Linked DNA regions of Homo sapiens: region 2 is linked to region 1. Evidence: promoter capture Hi-C in human tissues and cell types (Jung and others, 2019). All regions are on one chromosome and are shown on one strand. Each heading gives the region's core, a stretch centred on a gene start or on the middle of the fragment in contact. The rest is flanking DNA. Distances are from core to core; before and after follow the strand shown. Region 1 holds the start of LANCL2 (LanC like glutathione S-transferase 2). Region 2 overlaps ZNF713 (zinc finger protein 713).

Region 1 (4,511 bases), core at 801-3,300:
CTGTGCCCCGAAACCACCCTCCCCGCCCCCCAGTGACCTCCCACCTCCGGGGTTCCTCTCCGCCTTGCTGCCTGCTTTGGCTTTAGAAGGGAGCTCAAGCTCAGCGGCTTTTGGGGCAGCCACGTTAGGTGCTGGGGAATGGAAGAGGATGACACTGCCTATTTTGACTCAGATCTTCAAGGATGAGCACACCCTCCCCTGGTAGCAACTTCTGCACCCGCCGGCCACCCCGTAGGGCCCTGCCCCGCACCGCACCCGGTGGCCTCCCCGGAGGGCCGTGACCCAAGCACCGCACCCGGCGGCTTCCCCAGGTGCTGCTCCGCCCAGTGCCCCCCCAGATCTCAACGTGGTGCCACAATGCCGCCCTCTCGCACATCGTGTCCTTGGACTATGTCTTCCTTTGAAAGGTCAGTTGCCAGGGGCCCTCACGACTCCTTGGGTGTGCTTTGGGCCGGCATGTATGTCCTCTTGCCCTTCTCTTACACAGAAGAGTGGGGAGGGTGTCCTAAGAATTTGGCTTGTCCTAAGGAAAATAAAGTTGTAATTTCAAGGCACTGACCAAGGTCTCTGTACTACTCAAGAGCTCAAGAGTGGCCACGGGGGAAGATAGCCCTGGGTGTAAAAGGGCCGCAGAAGGGAATCCCCTGTGCTCTGCATTAAAAAACCCCCAGGGGACAGGAGGCTGAAGAAAGGGAACCTACCACTTCTCCATAAAATAGTGTCAGTGAGCTGTCCAGGAGGGCAGGGGATCTGCCGATAAGAGAGCATTTAGGAAAATATGCCGACTCCTTAAATTGGGTTTCGATTTTTCAGCTTTTGAAAATATTGGTTTTCTTTAGGACAGGTTTCTGTACTTGCCAACAGTTGCCAGTTATCCACCAGCAGACTGCAGGAAGAAGAGACAATCTTCACCTCCCTCCTGGGTAGGGAGAGCTGAGAATTCACTAGGCTTAGCCTAACAAAGCCCGCAGTGGACGTTTCTGCTGTACCTGTCCAAGGCGTGATAGTTCCCCAGACTTTGGGGAATATCACCGTGGGTTATTTTGTCTAGTTAAGTCCCTGTGGTGGGATAAGGATGGCTCCTAGAGCATGTCGGCATCAGTAGTTCCTGGAGTGGATTTTCCTACACCGTCTAGGTATGAAAATTTGGTGGGAGAAAAGACCCCAGGAAAGGGGAAAGCAGGAAAGTGGAGCTAAGGGATGCTGCTATAACACTCATCCTGTTGTATCTGTTCTGTTTCCCTGAACTTTGAAGATAGTTATGCTGAGTACCCCCTTTAAAATGATTTTCTTCTACACTGTACCTTCCCATGGTCATGTTCTTGGTGGGGTGTGTTTCACATGTCCAGCCCTGTGGGGTTGGGGGGACACTAGAAGAGGTAGTGGGAAGCCAGACTTTCCCACATCATTCCACCGAGGCCACGGAGGCAGGAGGAACCGAGCCTTCCCTGTGCTCGGCACTGTGTTTTTCTTCATCATGTCACTTTTTACATTAACGTGTATTTTTGCTTGCTTCCAGAAAAGCACCTACATCAGCTATGCTGTAATCCTTGCTTTTCTCACCCAATAACTGGGAATCCCCAGAGAGCCAAAACTATCTTTTTAATCTCTTATTTCTTCATCACCTAGTACCATTTGGTGCTCAATCAACGTTTACTGAGCGGAAGAAAACGGAAATAAGACATTTTCCTCAAGGAGCAGAAATCATTACACGTATTTGGTCCAAACAAATAAAAATAAAGAGAACCAATGAAGACTGAAGTAAACCACATCACGATTACATAAATGTAAAGATCTGGTTGCTTGTGTCCTTTTTATAATACATACTATGATCTTTGCCAATTAACACTGGAGGACTCTTTCTGGTCGATAAAATGTTTGGATAATTAAGTATGCTTTCATTTTATGTCCCGGTATCAAAGATGTCCATTTATTCAAAACAAAGGGAGTGAACATAAAACATAAAAAGAAAAAAAAAAAGGCCTGTGGCTCCTCCTCCCAGACACCCCCCTCCAACAGTGATGAATAGGAGGGACTGTCTCCCTCCCCCATCCCTCGGAGACTAGCCTTGCAGTGTTTTAGACTGTTTTGAAATTCTGTTCTTTAGAAGAGATTTTTTTTTTCTTCTTAATATCAAACAAAGAACTGCTGCTATTCCTTTGGGCTGGCGCAGCAGGGGCCGGTGAAATGCAGGCTGACGACGGCGCGCCAGGGGCTGAGCTCGCCCCGGTCGGCGACGCGCACACACCTTGAGTGACAGCGACCTCTTCTCTACAGGTTTTCCCCGCGGGAGCGTGGCCCTAGCGGGCGTTCGGTTTTCTTTGGAAATCGCGGAGGGGGCTGGCCGGGCGCAGCGATCCCCACCCCGGGACTCCAGCCCCGGCCGTGCGCGTCGCCGCGGACGGGCTCTGCGGGCCACGGGGAAGGTGCGAGGAGGCGCGAGCAGGCTGTGAGCCGCTGGGCGCTCCCGCGAGCCCGCTCCTCTCCGTCGGGAGCAGGGCAAAGGCGCCAGGAACAGGGCAGAGGCACAGCGCCCACCGCCTCTGCGGCCGCCTGATGTGCGAGCAGCCCGCGACGAGGCAGTGCACGCTCAGACGCCCCGCTCCTCCCGCCAGCGCGCGGCCTCGCTCCTCCTAGAGGACGCTCTCTGCGCGGGCCCTCGGAGGAGGCGGCGGCGGGGCGAGCTGCAGCGCCGGGACAGGAGGTTTGTCCCCGCCCGCGCGCCGTACCGCGGCGGAGATGGGCGAGACCATGTCAAAGAGGCTGAAGCTCCACCTGGGAGGGGAGGCAGAAATGGAGGAACGGGCGTTCGTCAACCCCTTCCCGGACTACGAGGCCGCCGCCGGGGCGCTGCTCGCCTCCGGAGCGGCCGAAGAGACAGGCTGTGTTCGTCCCCCGGCGACCACGGATGAGCCCGGCCTCCCTTTTCATCAGGACGGGAAGGTGAGTCGGCGGCCTGGCCGCAGAGGCGCCGGAGGGGGAGCGCGGCGGTGGTAGCGTCCACCTTCCGCCAGGCGTGACGTCACAGGCGCGCGCCGGGCTTGGGAGGGCGCGGGATGATAGCGCCTAGCACCTGTCTCCGGGCCTTCCCGATGAGCCGCGCTTAGGGTCCGTGGGCTTCAGCTGCATGAACCACGTTCCAGCAGTTCGGCCCTCCTGGCCCCAACGCGCCTTTGAAATACGCGGACAGTGCGCTTTCCTTCTTGGCCCGAGCGGCGCTTCGCAATGCGGGCTTGTGCACTCGTGAGGCCCGCGGACACCTCCCGCCCCTGCGCGGCGGAGCGCTCCGCCGGCTACCTGCTCCTCAGAAGTGGCCTGGAGGCTGGATTTCCTTGGCCATATCTGGTCCCTGGGCTCTCGCCGACAAAGAAGCATTGTCCGTACTGTCTGTGTGCCCAGAAATGGGAAGCGGGTGTAAGGGGAGGCCAAACTTGACTTTCTTAGTGTCGCGAGGTGGGTCAGAGCGTTACATTGACATAAAACAGATTAACAACAGAAAAACATACATCTCTTGAATATGTTTTACGTGAAAAAGACACAAAGAAATGGCAAAACCCAAATACTTTTGTGCTAGGCAGAACCAAGAGCGGCAGCTGTGGGAGAGTAAAGTGTGCGGGGAGGCTAATGGAAGATGGAACTGCTTGAACCACGTCTAGGTAGAAATCTCCGCCTTGCTCGGCTCTGGTGCCGAGTGTTTCTTTGTTCCTGGTGTAGGGAGGCCATGTTTTACAGGAGTTTTCTCTTGTTTCATGAAGAAAAGGGGGCAGTTTAGAGCACTCTTCTGTTTTTCAAGTGCTTTTAGCTTAAAATAATCCTTATGCCAGAGACATATTTTTGGGATGGCATACCCTGTCACCCTTCACGGGCTATCTGAACAGAATCTAACGTGGGAGGCAAAAAGTGGGAATAAAACAGAAGATTGAATATCAGCACAACTGTTTTCATGCTTGGTAAAACCGTACCTTTACCAGGTTTTCTTTTTCCACTGAGGTACGTGTTCCAATGGCCACTTCACCTCCTTGGATCTCCATGTATTTCATATTTGGCTAAAACTAAGAAGGTAATTTTGAAAGAGCCATTGGTCTGAATATGGAATCTAAGGCAAGTGACTTCTGTAAACCTCTCTCTTCTTGAATGTGGTTAAAAACTCGAAACAGGCCGGGCGCGGTGGCTCACGCCAGTAATCCCAGCACTTTGGGAGGCCGAAGCGGGCTGATTGCTTGAGCCCAGCAGTTCGAGACCAGCCTGGCCAACATGGCAAAACACCGTCTCTACAAAAGAAAAATACAAAAATTAGCCGAGCGTGGTGGTGGACGCCTGTTCAGCTACTCAGGAGGCCGAGGTATGAGAATCGCTTGAGCCTCGGAGGTCGAGGTTGCAGTGAGTGGAGATTGCGCCATTGCACTCCAGCCTGGGCGACAGAGCTAGACGCAGTCTCAAAAACCAAAAGCAAGCAAACCTGTGGGAACAAGTCCTAACTGATGGGGATGTGTCTGAATTAGATGAAGCAT
Region 2 (4,511 bases), core at 1,038-3,537, 580 kb after region 1:
AATTAATTTAGACCTTAAACTAGCAGCATATTACATTCCCAGGAGGGGTTATAAAAAGAAAAAATAATTTATTTTACAAATGAGATTATATTTGGAGTCATGTTCCAAATCTGATATAAAACTTTTTAAAAAATCAGAAGTCCTTATCCAGGCATGGTGGTGCACACCTGCAATCCCAGCTACTCTGGAGACTGAGGCATGAGAATGACTTGAACATGGGAGGTGGAGGTTGCTGTGAGCTGAGATCATGCCACTGTACTCCAGCCTGGGCAACAGAGCAAGACTCTGTCTCAAAAAAAAAAAAGAAAGAAAGCCTATAGGCAACAACTTGTAATTACTCACCTGTAAGTTTTATGGTATAAAACTTTTTTTTTTTTTTTTTTTTGAGGCAGAGTCTCGCTCTGCCACCCAGGCTGGAGTGCAATGGCGCGATCTCGGCTCACAGCAACCTCCACCTCCTGGGTTCCAGCGATTCTTCTGCTTCAGCCTCCCGAGTAGCTGGGACTACAGGTGCGTACCACCACGCCTGGCTAACTTTTTTTTTGTATTTTTTAGTAGAGACACGGTTTCACCATATTGACTAGGCTGGTCTCGAACTCCTGACCTTGTGATCTGCCCGCCTCGGCCTCCCAAAGTGCTGGGATTATAGGCGTGAGCAACTGCACCTGGCAGGTTATGGTATAAAACTTTTAAATCAGAAATTTTGATTAATTAAAGACAATGCTGGCTGGGGGCGGTGGTTCACGCCTATAATCCCAGCACTTTGGGAGGCCGAGGTGGGGTGATCATCTGAGGCCAGGAGTTTGAGACCAGCCTGGCCAACATGGTAAAACCCCATCTCTACTAAAAATACAAAAATTAGCTGGGTATGGTGGTGCACGCCTGTAGTCTCAGCAGCTTGGGAGGCTGAGGCAGAAGAATTGCTTGAACCCGGTAGGTGGAGGTTGCAGTGAGCCAAGATCACGCCACTGTACTCCAGCCTGGGCAACAGAGTGAGACTGTCTCAAAAAAAAAAAAAAGTAAAATTTAAAAATAAAGGCGATGCTGTAGTGCAGCCAGTCACATTAACTTGAAATAAACATAAAAGAGGAATATTTCACGAACGTCAGTTATTTGTATGCTTTCTTTACAGTTTTTACCATATCTAGTATTTACTTAATATTCTTTATAAAGGGATGCAAGATTTTTAGCCTTCTCCTAGGAAATACTATTTAGCATATAAAATAAGTTATATGCTAGTTTTATATGCTAATTAAATTTATTCTACTCTTCATCAAAATAGATACATAACCTTGAAATTAAAAATATTCGTTGATGTCCCCCCAAAAATCTTGTGTGCCGTTGTTTGAGAAACAGTGTGATAGTTTGTGGCAATATCCTGTGATGATTCTTTTTGCAATCTTGACATTATTTTCATCAAATGAATCCTAGGATCACTTTGAGAAGAGCCTTGAAGAAGACTTGAGGGTCCTATTGATGAACTTTGAAATATTGATTCAGAGAAGTCTGCTTTTCTATTTTGTTTTAGCTTTAAATTTCCCTGTGGCAAGTCTAGATTTTTTTTCAGTTAAAATTATTTCTGCTGTATTTGTAGAACAGAAGTTTTGGGATTTTGTAAAATAATGACCAGAGACTAAGAATTCCCATGCCACCCCGTATCACTGTGGAAGATGGAGAAGTGAGGAACTGTACCTGCGGGTGAGCCCTGGTGCCATGTTGAGGGTGGGAATCAGGAGAGCTGCAGTGGCTTATATAAACACCTGACGAAGTAGTCTAATTGGCTTAATCATTTATTTTATTTATTGAAATATATATCTGGGCTGGGCACGGTGGCTCACATCTGTAATCCCAGCACTTTGGGAGGGCAAGGCAGGTGGATCACTTGAGGTTAGGAGTTCAAGACCAGCCTGGCCAATATGGTAAAACTGCGTCTCTACTAAAAATACAAAAATTAGCTGGGCATGATGGTGTGCACCTGTAACCCCAGCTACTCAGGAGGCTGAGGCAGAAGAATTGCTTGAACCTGGGAGGCGGAGGTTGCAGTGAGCCGAGACTGCACCACTGCACTCCAGCCTGGGCAATAGAGCGAGACTCCATCTCAAAAAAAAAAAAAAAAAAAGAGAGAAAGAAAAAAGAAATATATATCTGTAACACTTTTTTCCAAAAAGAATTCATATTAGTTTGTTTGCATTGCTATAAAGGAATACCTGAAACTGGGTAGTTTATAAAGAAAAGAAGCTTTATTTGGCTCACAGTTCTGCAGGCTGTGCAGGAAATACGGTGCTGGTGTCTGCTTCTGTTGATGGCCTCAGAACGCTTCCAATTATGGCGGAAGGTCAATGGGAGCCAGCATATTACATGACAATAGAGGGGTCAAGAGAGATGGGGGAGGTTGCAACCTCTTAAACACTCAGCTCTCACATGAACTACCAGAGTGAGAACTTGAAGGGGTGGCCTTCCCCTCCACACCCGTGAGTATTTCTAGTCAGGTGAGATGAGAGACTGAGAAAGGAAAGAAGACACAGAGACAAAGTATAGAGAAACAACAGTGGGTCCAGGGGACCGGCGCTCAGCATACCAAGGATCTGCACCGGCACTAGTCTCTGAGTTCCCTCAGTTTTTATTGATTATTATCTTCATTATTGCAGCAAAAAGGAATGTAGGAGGGCATGGTGATAATAAGGAGAAAAACATGTGAGCAATAGAATCTATGTCATAATTAAGTTCAAGGGAAGGTACTATGACTGGACGTGCACGTAAGCCAGATTTGTTTCTCTCCACCGAAACATCACAGTGGTGTAAAGAATAACAAGGCAGCATTGCTGCAAACATGTCTCGCCTCCCACCATCGGGCGGTTTTTCTCCTATCTCAGAATTGAACAAATGTACAATCCGGTTTTATACCGAGACATTCAGTTCCCAGGGGCAGGCAGGAGACAGTGGCCTTCCTCTATCTCAGCTGCAAGAGGCTCCCTCTTTTACTAATTCACCTCAGCACAGACCCTTTACGGGTGTCGGGCTGGGGGACGGTCAGGTCTTTCTCATCCCACGAGGCCGTATTTCAGACTATCACATGGGGAGAAACCTTGGACAATACCCCGCTTTCAAGGGCAGAGGTCCCTGTGGCTTTCTGCAGTGCATTGTACCCCTGGTTTATTGAGACTAGAGAATGGCAATGACTTTTACCAAGTATACTGCTTGTAAACATTTTGTTAACAAAGCACGTCCTGCACAGCACTAGATCCCTTAAACCTTGATTTCATACAACACGTTTTTGTGAGCTCCAGATTGGATCAAAGTGGTTGGGTCAAAGTGGCTGGGGCAAAGCTACAAATTAACAACATCTCAGCAAAGCAATTATTCAAAGTACAGGTCTTTTTCAAAATGGAGTCTCTTATGTCTTCCCTTTCTACATAGACACAGTAACAGTCTGATCTCTCTTTCTTTTCCCTACAAGAACTCATTCAATAACACAGGAGGACACCAAGCCATTCATGAGGGATCCACCCCCATGGCCCAAACACCTCCCACCAGGCCCCACCTCCAACATTGGGGATCACATTTCAACCTGAGATTGGAAGAGACAAATATCCAAAGTATAATATATCAGAATTTAAGGTGATTTCATTTGATTTTTATGATTGCTGCCTTGTTTGACAGAAGTCACATTTGATGTTTTTTTCTGTTTTTTGTTTGTTTTTTTGAGACAGAGTCTCGCTCTGTCACCCAGGCTGAGGTGCAGTGGCTTGATCTTGGCTTACTGCAACCTCCGCCTCCCAGGTTCAAGCAATTCTCCTGTCTCAGTCTCCCGAGTATCTGGGATTACAGGTGCGCGCCACCACGCCTGGCTAATTTTTGTATTTATAATAGAGACAGTGTTTCACTCTATTGGTCAGGCTGGTCTCGAACACCTAACCTCAGGTGATCCACCCGCCTCAGCCTCCCAAAGAGTTGAGATTACAGGTGTGAGCCACCGTGCCCGGCCCCACATTTGATGTTTTAAAGCATTCAAAATGTAAACGGTCATAAACCAGGAATAGCTGCAAGCATAGGGACACTTCAGTTTCTTGGTTTTCAGGTTTCCTCTGTCTTCTCAGGCATGGCTGAAGAAAACATAAGGTTAAGGTAGGAGTGCAGCCCACTTGCTTTCTCATCTTTCTTCTAACTTGAGCCTGGCTCAAGACTTCCCTGATTTATTCTCCCCGAGAAAGGACTAGATTTTGTAGGCCCTGAGTCAAAGCTGAAATGATTTAAGGACTTTAAAAAACAAAAACAATAAAACCCCCCCAAAAAAACTCATTTCATTGTAGAAATTAAACTTTTCAAAAGCATTTTTGTCCCATGCAACAGTAGGTATGAAATAGTTAATAAAACCTTGAGTTACTGTAATCAGGGAGGATTTCTAATAGTATTTTGTCCAAACGTGTGCAGTGGCGATGCATTTTCAGGGCAAATCAATTCTGGAAGCATCCTCACCCAAAAAAAGCCACATTTAACATTCATTTGCCATA

The links. Contacts are between HindIII fragments. The study calls those that stand out against the background at their distance.
Region 2: a contact is called between a fragment that was not itself captured here and the fragment with the promoter of LANCL2 in region 1, in 1 of the 25 tissues and cell types used here (dorsolateral prefrontal cortex).

What each region holds. Positions count from the first base shown.
Region 1 is chr7:55,363,287-55,367,797 of GRCh38, forward strand. It overlaps LANCL2 (LanC like glutathione S-transferase 2), which reads left to right and starts at 2,051. Exons shown (of 9, transcript NM_018697.4): 1 at 2,051-2,943. The coding sequence starts at 2,740. RefSeq lists enhancers at 1,976-2,165, 2,786-3,245, 3,276-3,515 and a silencer at 2,236-2,655. The HindIII fragment of the contact is 20,479 bases long and covers 1-4,511 here.
Region 2 is chr7:55,940,449-55,944,959 of GRCh38, forward strand. It overlaps ZNF713 (zinc finger protein 713), which reads left to right. Exons shown (of 7, transcript NM_182633.3): 7 at 1-1,777. Among named protein-coding and RNA genes, the nearest start is that of MRPS17, 9.2 kb to the right of the region's middle. The HindIII fragment of the contact is 5,643 bases long and covers 1-4,511 here.